7 separate regions of the Homo sapiens genome follow, and all the other regions are linked to region 5. The links are contacts of gene promoters, found by promoter capture Hi-C in human tissues and cell types (Jung and others, 2019). All regions are on one chromosome and are shown on one strand. The core of a region is centred on a gene start or on the middle of the fragment in contact, and the rest is flanking DNA. Distances in the headings are between cores, read along the strand shown. Region 1 overlaps LINC02476 (long intergenic non-protein coding RNA 2476). Region 2 overlaps KCND2 (potassium voltage-gated channel subfamily D member 2). Region 3 has its middle 12 kb from the start of LINC02476. Region 4 overlaps LINC02476 (long intergenic non-protein coding RNA 2476). Region 5 holds the start of KCND2 (potassium voltage-gated channel subfamily D member 2). Region 6 overlaps LINC02476 (long intergenic non-protein coding RNA 2476). Region 7 overlaps KCND2 (potassium voltage-gated channel subfamily D member 2).

Region 1 (2,726 bases), core at 211-2,710, 390 kb after region 5:
AAAATGTGGGAAAGTCTGGAACTTCCTAGAGACTTGGAGGGCTCAGAAGAAAGGAAGATGTGGGAAAGCTTGGAACTTCCTGCAGATTTGTTGAATAGCTTTGACCAAAATGCTGATAGTGATATGGGCAATAAAGTCTAGGCTGATGTGGTCTCAAATGGCGATGGAGAAATTCTTGGGAACTGGAGTAAAAGTTACTCTTGCTATGCAAAGGGACTGGCAGCATTTTGCCCCTGCCCTAGAGTTCTGTGGAACGTTGAACTTAAGAGATATTATTTAGGGTACCTGGCAGAAGAAATTTCTAAGTGGCAAAGTATTTTTAAAAAAAAAACAGTTTAAAAGTTTACAAAATTTACAGGCTGACAGTGCAGTATAAAAAAAGAAAAAAATCATTTTCTGGGGAATAATTCAAGCCTGCTGCAGAAATTTGCATAAGTAACGAGAAGCCAAATGTTAATCACCAAGACAATAGGGAAAATATCTTCAGGGCATGTCAGAGACCTTCATGGCAGCACCTCCCATCACAGGCCTCAGGCTTAGAAGGGAAATATAGTTTTCTGAGCCAGGCCCAGGGCCTTCCTGCTGTGTGCAGCCTAGGGAGTTTGTGCCGTCCATCCCAGCCACTCCAGCCATGGCTAAAAGTGGCCAACATGCAATCAGGCCATGGCTTCAAAGGGTAAGCCCCGAGCCTTGGCAGCTTCCATATGGTGTTGGTTCTGTGGATGTGCAGAAGACAAGAATTGAGAAGACAAGCATCTATCCTCTGCCTAGATTTCATAGGATGTATGCAAATGCCTGGATGTCCATGCGGGGTGTACTGCAGGAGTGAAGCTCTCATGGCGAACCCCTGCTAGGGCAGTACCAAACGAAAATGTGGGTTGGAGCCCCCCACACACAGATTCTCCACTGGGGAACTGCCTAGTGGAGCTATGAGAAGAGAGCCACCATCCTTCAGAATGCAGAATGGTAGCTCTTCCAACACCTTGTACCATGTGCGTGGGAAAGCCACAGTTACTCAATGCCAGCCTGTGAAAGCAGCCAGAAGGGTGGCTGTACCCTGGAAAGCCACAGGGGTGAAGCTGCCCAAGACCATGGGAACCCATTACTTGCATCAGCATGAGCTGGATGCGAGACATAGAGTCAAAGGAGATCATTTTGGAGCTTTAAGATTTGACTGCCCTACTGGATTTCAGATTTGCACGGGGCCTGTAGCCCCTTCATTTTGGCCATTTTTCTCATTTGGAATGAGTGTATTTATGCAGTATCTGTACCCCCCTTGTATCTAGGAAGTAACTAACTTGCTTTTGATTTAACAGGCTCATAGGCAGAAGGACTTGCCTTGTCTCAGATGAGAATTTGGACTGTGAACTTTTGAGTTAATGCTGAAATGAGTTAAGACATTGGGGGACTGTTGGGAAGGCATGACTGGTTTTGAAATGTGAGGACGTGGGATTTGGGAGGGGCCAAAAGTGGAATGATATGGTTTGGCTCTTTCCCAACCCAAATCTCATCTTGAATTTTAGCACCTGTAATCCCCACATGTCCTGAGAGGGACCTGGTGGGAGGTAATTGAATCATTGGAGTGTGTTTTTCCTGTGCTGTTCTCATGATAGTAAATAAGTCTATGAGATCTTATCATTTTATAAAGGGCAGTTCCCCTGCACATGCTCTCTTGCCTGCCACCATGTAAGACATGCCTTTGTTCCCCCTTTGCCTTCCAACATGATTGTTAGCCTCCTCAGCCATGTGGAACTGTGAGTCCATTAAACCTATATTTGTTTGTAAATCACCTAGTCTTGGATATTTCTTCATAGTAACATGAAAATGGACAAGTAGAAACATTGTTGGAAAAAATTGAAGAGGACACCAAAACATGGAAAGATACTCTATGTTCACAGATGGAAATAATCAATATTGCTAAAATGTTCATACTACTTAAAGAAATCTGTAGATTCAATGCAATGCCTATCAAAGTACCCATGACATTCTTCACAGAAATAAAATAAAAACTATCCTAAAATATACATGGAACCACAAAAGACCAGAAGTGCCAAAGCCATCATGAGCAAAAAGACAAAACTGCAGGAATCACGTTACCTGATTCATGTTATACTACAGAGCAATAGTAACCGAAACAGCATGGTAGTGGCAGAAAATAAAAAGCCACAGTCATACAGACCAAGGGAATAGAATGGAGAACCCAGAAACAAATCCATACATCTACAGTGAACTAAATTTTGACAAAGATGTCATGAATATACAATGGGGAAAGGACAGTTTCTTTAGTAAATGGTGCTGGGATAACTGGATATCTATATGCAGGAGAATGAAACTAGTCCCCTGTCTCTTGCCATATACAAATATCAAATCAAAATGGATTAGAGACAAATCTAAGACTTCAAACTATGAAACTAACCCAAAAAAATATTGGGGAAAGTCTCCAGGACTTTGGTGTGGGCAAATGTTTCCTGAGCAATACACTACAAGCACAGACAATCAAAACAAAAATTCATAAGTAGAATCACATCAAGTTTAAAAGCTTCTGTAAAGCAAAGATACAATAAACAAAGTGAAAAGACAACCCACAGAATGGAAGCAAATATTTGCAAACTACCCATCTCACAAGGGATTCATAACAAGAATATATGAGGAGTTCGAACAACTTTGTAGGAAAAAAATCTAATAATCCAATTACAAAGTAAGGAAAAGATCAGAATAGACATTTC
Region 2 (2,704 bases), core at 81-2,580, 440 kb before region 5:
GCTGAACACTAGAGTAGCTCTTTCCTACTGTTTCACAGTTGATGACATTTTATTTGAAGGAACATGACTGTGAGTTTTTCTCATTTGGCAAGACATGAAATCAGAAGACCTGTGGTCAAGTTCAGCTCTGTCTCCTGCTAGCCATGTGACATTGTACTCAATAATCTAGCTTATTTAAGATGGTTTCCTATGTGTGGAATGTGGAGATACGAATATTCACTTCCTACTTCCCAGTTCGTGATGGAGATTATTACACCAAAGTGTCCTATTCAGATCCAGGCAGACTCTGCTCTTGGAGGCTGAGTTGGTGCATGAAGGTTCATGGACTTCCTAGGAGCTTCTCTTATAAAGGGCTGAGCTTTAGTCCTCCTTGGCTAAACAATAAATAACATTTATTGGACACTATGCTAAGAACCTTATATGGAAAAATACATTTATAATAAGTTCGTAACCTCACAATGAGGTGGCTATTAATATTACACCTTTATTACAGGTAAGGGAAAGGAGGCTTAGCAAGGCTAAATTCTTGCAGGGATAATCACAGGAGAGGTGACAAGGGCTACGTGGGCATGACCTCACATTTTTAAAAGAGCTGATATGCAGTCTTATGATCCTATTTATAAATAAGACTACATCTACAGGTGTTGTGCATGCTTATTAATGGCAGAGCTTAAATCGTACCCAGGCATTCTGGACCTTGCAGATGAAAATAAGTCTTTCAAGAAGGAAATCGGGATAGGTTACACATTTGTTCAGAAAATTTAGGCTGAGCCATCACTTCAGAAACCTGTAGCTGATTTTTGAACTTCTAATTTAAGATTACTATTTCTTTTCGTTTCCTTCTATTTTAAAACCAAATAAAATTTATTCTCTTAGATGGACATGTTTTGCACTTTTCATTATGGACATTTGTCTGTTCTCCTTATCTATTAGTCTTTTATTCATTTGTATTCCTCTTACACTACAAAACTAAATCAAAAAGCACATTTCAGGCCAGGCGCAGTGGATCATGCCTATAATCCCAGCACTTTGGGAGGCCAAGGCAGGTGGATCACCTGAGGTCAGGAGTTCAAGATCAGCCAAGGCAACATGGTGAAACCCTGCCTCTACTGGAGAAAAAAAAAAATGGGCGTGGTAGCGGGCACCTATAATCCCAGCTACTTGGGAAGCTGAGGCAGGAGAATCACTTGAACTGGGGAGGCAGAGGTTGCAGTGAGCCAAGATCACGCCACTGCACTCCAGCCTGGGTGAAAGAGCAAGACCCCATCTCAAAAAAAAAAAAAAAAAAAAAAAAAAAAAAAAAAAAAAAATTCAGATATCCAAAATTCAAAGAAAACCCACAAAATAGAAGTTTTATGAATTAAATAGACTCTTCAGATACATGTAAGAATTAGACGTACCACGACAAAAAAAAAAAAAAAGCTTTCTTATTTCAGTGCTTTTGTGGTTCATATTGACAGAAGGTAGGACAAGGAACATCAGCTAGGACCGATCAAGTCAGCTCCTCTTCATCTTTTAAATTGGAAGGAAGCACCTGAGACATCAACTATTGAATGAAGCATAGTACTCACCTTAATTTTGCTTTAAATTATTTAGTCTTTGTTACACAATAAGCTCTTTTACTACTCACTTTAGCCTGTGTATTTTGATTTGTTCATTTATTGACTTGCCTGATTATCACCCAGTATTTAAATAAATTATGATTCTAACTATAAATATGGACTTTGGTGAACCCTTACATTAAAATAAAAAATAAACTCAATCTTACAAATCATTTTTGAACTGCTGTTGCTCAGAAACTGAAATCTCAAGGAATAGAACCAGAATATTTTATCAACTAAACCTGAACAGAACTTCTATAAATTACAAAAACTATTTAAAGCCTTTTACTTGTTCATAAAGAAATACAAATAATTAATGTCAAGTCTTCAATTACAAGAACGGGTATATCCTCATGTGATTCAATGTAGGGAGCCCTCTGGGTCCCCTTTCTAGCTTAACATTCTCCATCGCCTATTTAGTTCTACTTGTTTTCATAAGGGAATATATTATCTTTCAACGTGGGCCTCTAGAATTTCTTAAGTTTGAAAAAGTTCATCTTCATAGCTATCAGATGTTAAACTGCTTTAAGCATCTTTGTAAAGGGAATGCAAGTCATTGCAAATACAATGTTGAATTCATTGCTTTGCATATACTAATCTTTGGTTTTACTGAATAAATAATAAATATTACATAGAATGCAAAATATACACTCAGAAATTTAAATGTGTATAAGGACTGTACTGATGAAATCTGTATCTTTGAATTTTTGATCAAATGCTAAATTCAGTGTCTTTATGTGAGATATGACATCTCTCACACAATTCATAAATCTAATTTGTCATCTTTTATTTAATCATGTTTATATTATGTAACAAATGTATATAAAATATATATCATCTACATTTCGTATTTTTGTGTCATATGCATAGTTCTAATTGTAATGTAATTTAAGAAAATACACTTGTATATTTTATATCACCAAATAAATTGTGGAAGAAAAGTAGAAAATATATAAGAAACAATGTATACAGAATAAAAATGTATAATCAAGGGCATACGAATATACTGGAGCTAAATGACTAATGAAAATTATAAAAAAGATATAATAGTTCTAGTTTGGTCAAAGCATACAGACATTATCTTTGGCTTTAGTGAGCTTATC
Region 3 (2,700 bases), core at 5-2,504, 350 kb after region 5:
AAATGTCCAGGATAAATTAATATAGCTTTGAGTATTTTATATTTATTAATATTATCCTACAATATCACAATGATTTATTAACATTTTGAAATTTATTAAAAACTGAATGTTGTTTTAGATGTTTCAGAGGATGACGTTATCTAGTTTGACCAAAAAAATCATGTATTAGAGGATAATCATAAACCTCTAAATTAATACTTGTAAGGAAGTTATATGATTTGCTTCTCTAAATAGTTAACTTTAAAAAATTTCTCAATAATATTTTCAATCTATACAACCTCTATTGTATAATCTACATTTTGTTGCTTCTTATAAAATTGGTGTCCAAAGTAAATTCTTGAGTATATTATTACTAGTATAAGGAAAGATAGTAACTGTATGCATTCATATTTATAGAAATTCTTGTACTTTTGTGTTACTTTCCCTCCAATAGATATTCCTCTTTTATTGGGATCATCATTTATTTGTCTTATTATAACTTCTAGACACATTACATGATAACTCTAGTAATAGCAGGGTTTTTATCTATATTTTTCTGTTAAATGAGAACACTTCCAGCATTTTCTTAGTTTTTGCTATAATCCCACTCTACCTCATGACAACTCTTAGGTGAGCTTTGCATAAACAATATGGCTCCCCAAAGCACAAACTACAATTTTGAAGAACATTATTCAAATAAATTTCCTATCATTCAAATGCAAGCATTTGAAATAATTCTAAATATTATCTCTCAGAAATAGTCCCTGCTATTTCTTAGTCTCACTTCCCAAGTGTAGTTTGGCCAATGTTTCCAAAGCATTTAACACAACAGATTCTGTATCTGATGATGCCAGAACCATAGAGCAATTTGTCTAGAAGCCCAAACCATTTCAGGCCACACAGATCCTTCAGATTACTGTCTGGGAAGGAAAGAAAAAAATAAAGGAGGAGAATGGAGGATATAAACCACCCAAGTATGGTAATTTATGTGATAGAGAGGAGTATGTTTACAGACTCCCTAAGATATATTTTGAGATGTGTTGAAGGAACACAGTTTGGCTGAGGGGATTGAAGGAATAGTAGTAGAGGAAATGGAATTATTTATGAGATCACAGAAAGTGGTTGTTCATTTACAAAGCCCAACAACCTAAGGCAAATAATACGAAATCTCAGATGTAATAATAATGAGGCATTTGAATGGAACAAGAGAAATGTCTGGTGACTAATTTACAGAAATATAAACTTCAACTTTATCAAAATCATCAGAAGTTGTTGAAATCATCACTTATGAGATACACATAATTCATTGGGAGAAGATTCTTTCTATGTGTGAAGGCACCTAGACAGAGAAAAGGTTGAATTGATTTTATGCTTAGGAATATTATTTTTGTTGTTTAAAAATGACATGATTAGTGAATTTCTATGGAAATCATGAGAGAATTGCAAATAGGTATTGACAAAATCTTTATACTATTTAATTTCATGTATTTGTGAATTTTGTTATTTTTAACCGATGTATGCCAAGCTCCTATTTTTGTTTACTCTATAATAATAAAGATATTTTTCTTTTATTATTTAAAAGAAGAAGATGCTTAAATGGAGAGAAGTAATATGTTCAAGGTGCTATTGCACCAGTAACATTTTTAAGATCATGGAACAAGATGTACAAATAACAGAAAATACCTTGATAATTTTCTGAGGTTTAAAAGACAATGGGAACATTTGAATCCAAATCAAGTGTGATACAATTTTAATTGAAGAAAGATATCAAATGCAAAACAATTAGAATTACTGCACAATTAAATTTTTCTTTCAGTGTTTATTTTTGTACTCCATATAATGGCAATGGTGAATCCATTTTTTTGAAGCTTAAATTTACACAATTTGGTGAACATCTTTAGGTTAAAACAAAAGAAGAAACAAAAAATACATACGGTATGGAATATTTATTTAGACAGAGAAAATATATCATAATCATAAATTTCAAGAAGCTGACACAACATAATAAAATACAGAAAAACAAGAAAATATATTATGTGACATACTCTACAATAATTTTCTGTATTTTTCTATTATTTTATTGTCTTTTAGGTAATATTTTATAATAATATTTCTATAGAGAAAATTGTAAGCCTTTTTTTCATCTTCCATTGGTTGTTCAAAAGTTGTTTTATTATTGATAACTTTTAAAAATGTCATTCATCTTCAAACTTATTTTATTATGTACTGATTTATTTATTTTTAGAGAAGAGTCTCATTCTATTACCCAAGCTGGAGTACGGCAGCCCAGTGATAATTTACTGCAGCATCAACCTCTCCTGGGCTCCAGTGATCCTCCCACTTCAGCCTCCTGAATAGCTGGGATCACAGATGTGCACCAGTATGCCTGACTTTTTTTTTTTTTTAATTATTATTTAGGGACAGGGTCTATCTCTATTGCTAAGGCTGGTCTTGAATTCCTGGCCTCAAGCAATCTTTAAACTTGCTGTTAATGAACTGGTGACATAAACATCTGTTTATAATGGTGTGACAGATTTACTCTGCCATCTTAAACAACTAAAAATAGCAGAAAAACATATGAAAGAAGAGTTTTCAGACACTCAAAATCAGGTAGTAAAAATAAATCCTGAAAGTAGAAAAGTGTATGAGGTTAGCTCTGAAGTATACCCAGTACATTACTTGGAGAGAATGTTTAGCCTCAGCAAAGGAAGCCTCCTGAGG
Region 4 (2,837 bases), core at 289-2,788, 450 kb after region 5:
AAAAAAAAAAGACATACCTGAGACAAAGAAATTTACAAAAGAAAGAGGTTTAATAGACTCACAGTTCACATGGCTGGGGAATCCTCACAATCATGGCTAAAGGTGAAAGGCATGTCTCACATGGTGGAAGACAAGATAAGATAATGAGAGCCAAATAAAGGGTTTCTCCTTATAAAACCATCAAATCTCGTGAGACTTACTCACTACTACACAAACAGTATGGGGAAAACCATCCCCATGATTCCATCATTTCACACTGGGTCCCTCCGACAACATGAAAGAAGTATGGGAGCTACAATTCAAGGTGAGATTTGGGTGAGGACACAGCCAAACCATATCATTCTATACCTGGCCCCATCCAAATCTCATGTCCTCACATTCAAAACCAATCATGCCTTCCCAACGGTCCCCCAAAGTCTTAAGTTATTTCAGCATTAACTCAAAAATCCATAGTCCAAAGTCTTATCTGGGACAAGGCAAGTCCCTTCCACCTATGAGCCTGTAAAATCAAAAGCAAGTTAGTTACTTCCTAGATACAATGGGGGTACAGGCATTGGGTAAATATAGTCATTCCAAATAGGAGAAATTGGCCAAAACAAAGGGGCCTATAGCCCCTTTGAAATCCAGTGGAGGAGTCAAATATTAAAGCTTCAAAATGATCTCCTTTGATTCCATGGCTCACATCCAGGTCACACTGATGCAAGAGGTGGGTTCCCATGGTCTTGTGCAGCTCCACTCCTGTGATTTTGCAGGGTACAGCCTCCCCCATGGCTGCTGTCACAAGATGGTGTTGAATGTCTGGCTTTTCCAGGTGCACGGTGCAAGCTGTCTGTGGACGTATCATTCTGGGATCTGGAGGATGGTGGCCCTCTTCACAGCTCCACTGGGCAGCACCCCAGTGGGGACTCTGTGTGGGGCTTCAACCCCACACTTCCCTTCAGCACTGCCCTAGCAGACGTTCTCCGTGAGGGCCCTATCTCTGTATCAAACTTCTGCCTGGACGTCCAGGAATTTGTATACATGGTCTGAAATCTAGGCAGAGGTTCCCAAATGCCAATTCTTGACTTCTTTGCACTCAAAGACTCAACAGCATGTGGAAGCTGCCAATGCTTGGGGCTTGAACCCTCTGAAGCCACAGCCCAAGCTTTACATTGGCCCCCTTCAGCCCCAGCTGTAGCAGCTGGAAACAGGGCACCATATCTCTAGGCATTACACAGCAGGGGGACCCTGTACCCAGCCCACAAAACCATTTCTTTTTCCTAGGCCTCCAGGCCTTTGATGCGGGGGCCTGCCATGAAGACCTCTGACATGCCCTGGAGATATTTTTCTTACTGTCTTAGTGGTTAACATTTGTCTCCTCATTACTTACACAAATTTCTGCAGCTGGCTCAAATTTCTCCTCAGAAAATGGATTTTTCTTTTCTATAACATCATCAGGCTGCAAATTTTCTGAACTTCTGTGGATCATCTCCTTCAAGTTCAGAGTTCCACAAGTCTCTAGGGCAGGGGCAAAATTATGTCAGTCTCTTTGTTAAAACATAACAAGAGTTACCTTTGCTCAAGTTCCCAAAAAGTTCCTTATTTCCATCTGAGACCATCTCAGCCTGGATTTCATTGTCCAATCATTATCAGCATTCCATTCAAAGCCATTCAATAAGACTCTAGGAGGTTCTTAAGTTTCACTCATTTTCCTGTTTTCTTCTGAGCCCTTCAAACTGTTCCAACCTCCACCTGTTACCCAGTTGTAAAGTTGCTTTCACATTTTCGAGCCTCTTTTCAGCAGTGCCCCACTCTTCTGATACCAATGAACTTTATTAGTCTGTTTTCACATTGCTGATAAAGACATACCGGAGATTAGGCAACTTACAAAAGAAAGACGTTTAATGGACTCACAGTCCCACATGGTTGGGGAGGCCTTACAATCATGGCTAAAGGTGAAAGGCACTTCTCACATGGCGGCAGACAAGAGAAGAAAATGGGAGTCCAGCAATAGGGCTTTCCCCTTATAAAACCATCAGCTCTCATGAGACATTGACTACCACAAGAACAGTATGGTGGAAACTGCCCCCATGATTCAATCATCTCCCACTGGGTTCCTCCCACAATACATGGGAATTATGGGAGCTACAATTCAAGATGAGATTTGGGTGGGGATACAGCCAAACCATATCACTGGGAAAAGATTTCTTTGAACGTAACTGCTATAACACAGACAACAATTGTAAAAATAGACAAATGAGATTAGATCAACCAAAGTGCTTTTACACAGCAAAAGGAACTGGCATTAGTGTGAAAAAGCAACCTAATGTATGGAAAAAATATTTGCAAACAATTTGTTGGAAAAATGGTTAATAGTTAAAATACATTTAAAAATTCGACAGCTTACAACTCAATAGCAAAGACAAGATAATAACCCATCTTTAATCAACATTTTTTAAAAAATACAACATAAAAATGACTACCAGATTCATGAGAAAATCTAAAAATCATGGATCATCAGAAAAGTGTAACTCAAAACTAAATTAGATGTTTTATCACACCAGTTAGAATGTTCATTATAAAAATAAAATAACAAGTGCTGGTGAGGATGGGGAGAAAAAGGAACACTCATACATTGCATGTGTGAATGTAAATGAGTGCACTCATTATGAAAAAACAGTAAATAAATTTCTCAAAAAAATAAAATGGAATTACAATAGATCTCCACTCTTTCAGGTTTTTGCTTCCCTTGTCTCAGTTATCCCCAGTCAACCTCAGTTTTAAAATATTCAATATACAATTCCTGAAACAATTCATAAATTTTAAATTCAATGTTTTTCTGAGTAATGTAAGAAACT
Region 5 (2,749 bases), core at 131-2,630:
CTCCAGTCAAGCAAAGTACTAGTGAGAAACGTGGTCCAGAGGTGTAACTCTTATTCCAAGATAGGGCTCCTGGTAAAGTCACAGTTCTCAGAAGGGCAACTTTCCCTCCAAGACAGGTATTTGGAATAATGGCAACAAAATACAACGTCCTAACAATCACCCTCAACAGAACCCAGCCAAATCTCTTCCTGCAGGTGGGCTAGGCCACCCTCTGGCACAAATAAGCACACAGGTGCAGCCGTTTCTTCAAACAGGTGTTTTTGATTTCTCCCCGGCACAGTCTGGATAATATAGGGTCAGTATGTGGAGTGTAGGATAGAGAAGACGAACGAGAGTCACCCAATAGAATTCTTTCGACGAATTAGGGAACCCTTACACCTACCCTTCTCACTCTTTCAAACCTTCCTTTCCAAGTAGCCCTTCCCGCCAAAGGAGTCTCAAAAAGGCGACCTGTTGTTGTAGCTCAGGAGATGCGGTCACAGCCGCTGCCCCACGTCTCTCTTTGGGGGTCCAGCTGCTGCTGCCTCTACTCCTCGGGCTGTATTTGCAGAGATGGAGGTGATGTGCAGTGGTTACGGTGGGGGGCGTTAATAGAGATTCTCCTCCCCCACGTCTACAAACACCCTCTGTGTCTGCCAAAAGCGTTCGCCCAATCGCCCCTTCACTCTCTTTTCAAGTTCAGCTCAGGTGCAGTGTGACAGTTACAGAGCTCAGGAGCTGGCAGCCGCCGCCGCCGTGGCGGCAGCAGCATCTGCTTCCGCGCAGAACGCGCCGCTCCCGCGGTACATACCTGGCCAAGTGCGCGCCGGGGCTTAGTTGCATAGAGACTTTCTCCTCGCCGTGCACCCGGAAAGGGAAGAGGAGAGAAAGCAGCTCGCGAGCAGCCGAATCCGATGCGCCGAGAGAGCATAAATAAAGCTCAAGCGAGCTCTTCTTTCCCTTCCCCCATCCCTCCGTGCCTCCCTCCTCCTTTTCACCTTCCAAAAGCCAGGCGCAGGCGAGCAGAGCAGCAGCAACAAGTTCAAAAGGTGCGGGGGAGGCGAGAACGGAGGGGACTCGCTCCTGCCAACTTACTGCGGGGCCACTGTCGCGGGAGCCTGGCCAGCGCGGTGCGGGGCTGCGGGGCGGCGGGGCTGCGGGGCGGCCGGGCGGGCGGCGTTGGCGCGGTGGGGCCGGGGCCGGGGCCGGCACGGGCTCTCGTCCGAGCGCGGAGGCAGAAGGCGCTCGGCAGCGCGGGGGCGCGGGAGGGCTGCTAGCTGCTTCCCCGCCAGTGGGTGGTCCTGCATCTCCCCGGGCTCCCCGCGCTGCTCTGCTAGTGCGATCAATAAATAAGGAGAAAATAAATAAATAACCGCGCGCACGCCCCGCCACGCAGGTTAGGAAAGGCGTCTCCTGCCTTTCCCTCGGCTTGACCTTTCTCCGCCCCCGCCCCCTCGGGCTCCTCTCGCTCCACCCCAGCCACCCACCAACCCCGGCGCAAAATGTCACCGAGGGAGAGCATCCAGGTGGATCTGCTGGGGAGAAAAGCGAGCCTCGGATGAACAAAGGGAAGCTTCACGTGCTGGGCTGCGGTGGTTTGGTGGAGGAGAGGAGAAAGGGGACCCGTGCCTTGCTTCTGCCTCTCGAGTCCCGGTTCAAGGCGAGCGTGGGAAAATGGGGGGAAAGAGAGCGAGAGAAGCTGGGAAGGAGGGTGAGCGGAGCGGAATGCGCAGGAATTGGTTGTCTTCTGGGGGCGACTGGAAGGCAAGACCCGCAAAGCTCCGACGCGGAATTTTTAAGTGCATTTCCTCTTTCTGTTTTTATTTATTTTCAAAACCAGATTGTTAACGTTGCAGGGATTGATATGCCATCTGTCCAACTTGCCAAAAAATCAGAGACTCTCCTCGATCGAGGTCTTGACACAACTCCTTTTCCCGTCCTTTACGAATAACAGGGATGTGGAGCCCTTTTCTAAATGTCATCGTCAAGGGGCGTGCGTCTCTGAAAGTTTGCGTCCCCTTCATCCTCTCTGCGCATCACTGCGCATATTTAAAATAGTTAAAAGAGTTAAAGGTGTTCGTATGAGGGGTTACTGAGGTAGAGAGACACAGGAAAATTGTCGCTACCAACCTTTTTGTTTTTCGCGTACCCCGCCCCCGAGTCATTAGGAATCATCCTTAAAACCAAACGTAACACATACAAGCCACTAGATGGCGTGGATGGCGAGAAGTTAAATCTGCACCTAAGGTTTGGATGCTTTAGGAAGGTGAAGGATCAAAATTAACTGGTCCAACAGAGAGTCAGATCACATAAACATCCCCAAACCCCTTCGCTGCCACCCACCTTTTTTGTGTTTATGTGACATATACTACTTAGGCTTGAGTCTGCATTTGGATAGTTGTGGGATGAGATGTGGAGAGTTTCCTTTTGAAATTCCTTTGAAAATTAAATCTAGATTACTGAATCATCATCATCATAGTAATTAAGATCTTTGGCAATAATGAGGCTTCATCTGTATTGATGAAGAATAGTAGCCTAATTTCTACCTAAAAATTACTTTTCATGGCTTGGTTTGACTGCCCTTGGTTTGTAAAATAAGTGGACTGTGTGTTGTACTTTACGGAAATTGACTTTTAAGCCCTAGAGATTACAGGCATGATGTGTCAACCTTGAAAATTTGAAATGGGATACGTCAAAGAAAATATATAAACTAAAAAATGAGTATAGAAAATAACCAGAGAATTTAAAATATCCTTATCATGTACAGGAT
Region 6 (2,734 bases), core at 232-2,731, 430 kb after region 5:
TACTTATACAAATTTACACATTTTAAAAGTTATTTAGGTCAAAATATTTAAATTAATTTTATTTTCAAATAAGGTATTACATTAAAAAATTTGGAAGACCTTGCAGTTGATTGAAAAGTTAAGATATAATTAGGTATTCTTTATTTAAAAATTACCTAAAGGATCATTAGATGTAAACATTTTAATCTTTATTTGTCAGCATTGAGAAATATAAAAATAGCGTATATATCCATGTAACGAGCCATATAGGAGTGTAGATGTGAGGAAATTAAACAATTTCTGTTGATACACGAGGTAGGTGAAAGTGTCAGCTTGAAGAGCTTAAAAATAGAAATAACATTAAAATATATAATAACAACGGCAACAGATGCAATATAAAATCTATACATAAATGTAATGCTCTTGATGTGCCATTATTACCATCTCTGGTTTCCCTAAATAGTAGCAGTTTTTAATTTTCAGTGAGAAATATTATTCATCCATCAGTCTCTTTCTAGGGCCACTCTGTGTTAGTGGACTCTGTAATTGGACAAATTCGTGAAACTTATTAAAGCTAATAGTATCTTTGGACACTTAGACACTGCTATCTCTGTACTTCCTAATATACATCTGTATTTTAGTTCCATAATACTCCATTCTTAGTGATCCAGAAAGTAAGCTTCCATTTTTTTGTGGTAAATTACTTATAAAATCTAACCTCTCAGTAAGTTTTTAAGTATACTTTATGGTATTGTCAACCATATGTATACTTTTTTACTGCAGATCTTTAGACATTTTCATCTTGCGTGACAAAAACTCTGTATCCATTGAAGAATAACACCTCATTTTCCTTCTTGGCAGACAATGGAAACCATCATTCTACTTTATATGAGTTTACTATTTTGGATATCTCATTTAACAGAACCATGCACTATCTGTCCTTCTGTCTGGTTTATTTCACCTAGTATAATGATGTCAGTTTCATCTGTGTAGTATATGGCAGGATTTTTGTTTATTTAGACTGAGTCTCGCTCTGTCACCCAGGATGGAGTGCAGTGGTGTGATCTCAGCTCACTGCAAACTCCACCTCCTGGATTCAAGCGATTCTCCTGCCTCAGCCTCCCGAGAAGCTGGGATTACAGGCACGCTCCACAACGCCTGGCTAATTTTTGTACTTTTAATAGAGAAGAGGTTTACCCATGTTGCCCAGGATGGTCGCGAATTCCTGACCTCAGACTGATGCGCCCTCCATGGCCTCCTAAAGTGCAGGGATTAAAGGTGTGAGCCACCACACCTGACCAGGATTTTATTTTTTAAGACTGAATAAAATTCCATTATATGTTATATACCACGTTTTGATAGGTATTGCATAGGATCTATAATTAGTTATTTTGGTTAGTATGGATATTTCAACAACATTAGGTCTTCCAATCCACAAACACAGGTTACATTTCCATTTACTTGCATCTTTAATTCCTTTCATCAGTGTTTTCGGTATGTATTTTACTTTCTCATTTAAGTTTGTTCCTAAGTATTATATTCCTTTGTTATTATTAAAAATTAGACTTTTAAAAAGATTTTCTTTGTGGATTGTTTGTTGTTATTTTACATAAACACTGGCTTTTGCATATACATTTTGTATGCTGCAATTGCTGAATTCATTTATTATCTTAACTGTGTGTGTGTGTGTGTGTGTGTTTGTGTGTAAGGTGTTGCTTTCTGATATATGGCCTTTTTATGTTGAGGTTATATCCTTTTATTCTTAGTTTGACTTCTTTTATCATAAAAGGATGTTGAATGTTTTTTTCAATGCTTCATTCTATGTCTACTGAGATGATCATGTAATTTTTAACCTTGGTGTATCACATTTATTTTTGTATGTTGAACCATTCTTGCATCCCAAGAATAAGTCCCACTTGATCATGGTATATGGCTATTTTAATGTGCTATTGACTATGGGTTTCTAATATTTTGTTGAACATTTTTGCATCTATATTTATAAGGGGTATTAGCCTGCAATTTTATTTTCTTATAATGTCTTTGCCAGGCTTTGGTATCAGGATAATGGTGGCCTCATAAAATGAGTAAGTATTCTTTCCTCTTCAGTTGTTTTGGAAGAAGTTGAGAAGGATTAGTATTAATTCTTCTGTAAATGTTTGCTTGACATATCCAGTGAAGACATGGTCCTAAGCTTTTCTTTGTCAGGAGATTTTTAATTACCAATTCAATCTCCTTACAAAAAAAAAAAAGATTAGAAATAAACGAAATATATAATAGAGTAACGATTTAAAAATAAAGAGAAATAAAACTTTGTTTTCTGAAAACATCAAGAAACTTGACAATAGCTTTTTTTTTTCCTTCCTACTCGTAACTTTGGATTTTGCTTGTTCCTTTTTTAGAGTTGCTTGAGGTATAAAATTAGGTGGTTTAAATAATATGCTTTCTTTTTCATGTAGAGTTTTACCAGTGTAAACTTTCCTCTTAGTACTGCATTTGCTGTATTTTATCAATTTTTATGCTATATTTTTTCTTTTCGTTTGTATCAAGATGTTGTCTAATTTTTTTAAATTTTTTCTTTGAAGTATTGCTTGTTCAGTACTGTGTTAATTTTCACATATTTCTGATTTTTTTAGTTTTCCTTCCTTTATTGATTTCTTTTTTTATTTTATTGTGGTCAAAAAAGATACTCAGTATAACCTCAATCTTCCTAAATGGGTTAACACTTGTTTTTTGACCTAATATGTGATCTATGCTT
Region 7 (2,700 bases), core at 187-2,686, 460 kb before region 5:
TATATTGTTTTAAGTCACAGAAAGACATTTCTACCTGAAACTAAGAATTTTTTCCTTTAAGTCAAATGATTTTTTGGACATATCTATTTCTACTTTGTGACTATAATATATATGGCTTCAGACTTTAATGTCAGAAATTATAAATATCTGAATATAAAAATTACCTTTCAACCTTATAGAAAGTGATTCTAACATTAAGTAATCTTTTTGATTGGAAAATATTTTAAGTCAGATGATGTAATGATAGCTCTTCAATTTTTCCTTTATATGCCATGACACAGTTCTTTACATTTATTTAATACTCAATAATTCTATGCTGAAATTTAGAGTCTGGATAACACAATTTTCCACTTAGTTTTTTCAACATTCAATTGGTTATGAAATTTAAGTAGAAAAAGTAGCACATCACATTCCTTTCACCAGATGTCATCATTTAAAAAATAAACTTTTCAAGGTCCCCATTAACCTTCACTTGTGAAATCTAATGGCCATTTCTCCATAAAAATCTAACTCAATCTCTCATTTGTAGCTTATTAGTTGACTATTCTCTCCTTGAAAGACTCCTTTTATTCTTGGCTTTAGTATTAGAAAATATTCTTATTTTCCCTCCTATCTCATTGGCTACCACTTCTCCATCTTTTTTTCTGCCTCCTTTCCCCTTATCTGATTTCTAAACCTTAGAGTACTTTAGGTCTCAGTCTTCCGTCCTCTTATCTTCTCCATATAAACCCACTTCCTATGTGACTTTGTCCAATCTCATAGCTTAAAACTATCTCTATGCAGCTGATGCTCTTGATTTATATTGACAGCCATGATGTCTCTCCTGAAAATCAGATTCATATCTTGAGTGGTCTGGTCTGATTATTTCTACCCCTGGATGCCTAAGAGCCCATTAAAATTTAAATTAACCAAAATGGAACTCTCATTTCCCTAGCTTCCTCTTCCTCTCTCAAATATTTTCCCCCCACAATTCTGCCACTTATAATTAAACATAATCACCACCATGCAGTTGTTCATACCAAAATTGGAAGAGCCATCGCCTTAATTGCCAGTATCAACGTTTCATCTCTTAGCTGGTCTTGTTGTCTCTGTGCAAACCAAATTGTATCCCATTCAAGTCTCTTTATGACAATAAACCAAACCGTGGTCATTTCTTGCCAGAGCCATAGATATAGCTTCTTACCTGACTCTCCTTTCTACATTTAGCACTTTACAATTCATGCCAACATAGCAGCCAGAACTTTGGTTTTAAAAATGGAGATTGGACTACTGCTATGTTGCTTAAACCCTGACATGGACTTGAAACTGAAATAAATCCAAACTCCTCAGTTTTGCCTCCAAGGGCCTACCTCATTTAGTTCCTGCCTGTATTTTACACCACCTTTCACCAAGCTCACTGGCCTCTGGCCACACTGGCCATCTGGCCTTCTGTTTTGTGTGCAGCCCCCAGATGGTGATTATTCAGGGTGCCATTTAAATGTCTCCATCCAAGTGATTTTCTGGCCACCTAATTCACAGTAGTCTTATTCTCTTTCCTATTCATTCTCTGTAACATTTCCTCATTTGACTGTCTTCAGAGTACTTATTAACAAGTAACATTTTCTTATTTATTGATTTATTTTTTCACTCCTCATCCACCCTACTGACATTAGAATGTAAAATTGCTAAAGCAGGAGCAGTTCTACTTTGTGTTTCGTGAGCATAAGGCCAGCTCCTACTACATATTAGTTGAATGAGTACACTTTCTCTTCTTTACTGATGGAGACTTTGTCTAGAGTGCACTCCTGGGGCGGGGGACAAGGAGGAGTTCTTTCCATCTTACTATTGCCGAAGTTACCCAGCTGTGTCTGAGCTCCAACTACTCCATGCTTACTCTGGGGCTTTGGAGAGCTCAATGCTCAGAGAGTGTAGTCCTGAGAGACAGGGATCAAAGGAACTCACATACTAGAATCCATGCTCAAGGGAGTTTAGGAGGACTTGGGGTTATATTGTATCTTGAGAGGTAGCCTAGGCAATAGTCACTCTAACATTGTTTTGTGGGAAAACATATGTGTGTCAATATGGAGATGGAGAGGAATTGGCTGAAGAAAAACTGTTGAGAGAGACAGAAGGTGATACTATCTAGTGCCACATTTAGTGACCCTATTCTGAGCTCTGGTCCTTTGATTTGAAGATCCAGGTACTCATTCCTGTTGGTGTTTGTGGGTGATCAGTAGTTGAGCTAATTTAACATAGCTGAAGTTCCCACAAGGCTTTGGCACCAGAATAACAGTATTAATTTATAGTACAAAAATAATAACCTAAGAACCAGAATGCTGTGTTCATATAAAACACGATCTCCTTCTATCTGGGAAGCTAAATTATAATCTAAAGGTTATGTTAGTGAAGAAACAGTGAAAGCTAAAGGAATTTAGAAGATGATTTTCAAAAGTCTTGGGGATATTCTTACTGTAGAGGTATGTCAGTGGGATTGGAAGGTCAACTCCTTTTTATACAATGCTGTGTACATATGAGCCAAATTATGTATCTGTCACAGTTCACATTGAATGTCCAGTCATATTTTATACACAATGTTTTTCCCCTTCACACTGATTATGCAGTAAGCCCCAGAGAAGGTACATACACAGACACACACACGCACGCGCGCACACACACACACGGCTTTTAAAAAAGGGATTTGATTTTTAATAAAAACTCAAT

The links. Contacts are between HindIII fragments. The study calls those that stand out against the background at their distance.
Region 1: a fragment that was not itself captured here is called in contact with the fragment with the promoter of KCND2 in region 5 in 5 of the 25 tissues and cell types used here (dorsolateral prefrontal cortex, heart left ventricle, liver and 2 more).
Region 2: a fragment that was not itself captured here is called in contact with the fragment with the promoter of KCND2 in region 5 in 2 of the 25 tissues and cell types used here (dorsolateral prefrontal cortex and lymphoblastoid cells).
Region 3: a fragment that was not itself captured here is called in contact with the fragment with the promoter of KCND2 in region 5 in 2 of the 25 tissues and cell types used here (mesenchymal stem cells and mesendoderm cells).
Region 4: a contact is called between a fragment that was not itself captured here and the fragment with the promoter of KCND2 in region 5, in 2 of the 25 tissues and cell types used here (mesenchymal stem cells and small bowel).
Region 6: a contact is called between a fragment that was not itself captured here and the fragment with the promoter of KCND2 in region 5, in 4 of the 25 tissues and cell types used here (hippocampus, lymphoblastoid cells, mesenchymal stem cells and 1 more).
Region 7: a fragment that was not itself captured here is called in contact with the fragment with the promoter of KCND2 in region 5 in 1 of the 25 tissues and cell types used here (mesenchymal stem cells).

Annotation. Positions count from the first base shown.
Region 1 is chr7:119,884,020-119,886,745 of GRCh38, reverse strand. The region is part of intron 1 of LINC02476 (long intergenic non-protein coding RNA 2476); the gene reads left to right. Among named protein-coding and RNA genes, the nearest start is that of LINC02476, 22 kb to the left of the region's middle. The HindIII fragment of the contact is 5,156 bases long and covers 1-2,726 here.
Region 2 is chr7:120,710,848-120,713,551 of GRCh38, reverse strand. The region is part of intron 1 of KCND2 (potassium voltage-gated channel subfamily D member 2); the gene reads right to left. Among named protein-coding and RNA genes, the nearest start is that of TSPAN12, 150 kb to the left of the region's middle. The HindIII fragment of the contact is 4,297 bases long and covers 1-2,704 here.
Region 3 is chr7:119,918,332-119,921,031 of GRCh38, reverse strand. No RefSeq gene overlaps it. Among named protein-coding and RNA genes, the nearest start is that of LINC02476, 12 kb to the right of the region's middle. The HindIII fragment of the contact is 8,566 bases long and covers 1-2,700 here.
Region 4 is chr7:119,816,980-119,819,816 of GRCh38, reverse strand. All of the region lies in intron 1 of LINC02476 (long intergenic non-protein coding RNA 2476), which reads left to right. Among named protein-coding and RNA genes, the nearest start is that of LINC02476, 89 kb to the left of the region's middle. The HindIII fragment of the contact is 4,042 bases long and covers 1-2,837 here.
Region 5 is chr7:120,271,806-120,274,554 of GRCh38, reverse strand. KCND2 (potassium voltage-gated channel subfamily D member 2) reads right to left here and starts at 1,380. Exons shown (of 6, transcript NM_012281.3): 1 at 1-1,380. RefSeq lists an enhancer at 615-684 and silencers at 1,125-1,274, 2,194-2,293. The HindIII fragment of the contact is 5,227 bases long and covers 1-2,429 here.
Region 6 is chr7:119,846,004-119,848,737 of GRCh38, reverse strand. The region is part of intron 1 of LINC02476 (long intergenic non-protein coding RNA 2476); the gene reads left to right. Among named protein-coding and RNA genes, the nearest start is that of LINC02476, 60 kb to the left of the region's middle. The HindIII fragment of the contact is 5,258 bases long and covers 1-2,734 here.
Region 7 is chr7:120,730,180-120,732,879 of GRCh38, reverse strand. All of the region lies in intron 1 of KCND2 (potassium voltage-gated channel subfamily D member 2), which reads right to left. Among named protein-coding and RNA genes, the nearest start is that of TSPAN12, 130 kb to the left of the region's middle. The HindIII fragment of the contact is 4,011 bases long and covers 1-2,700 here.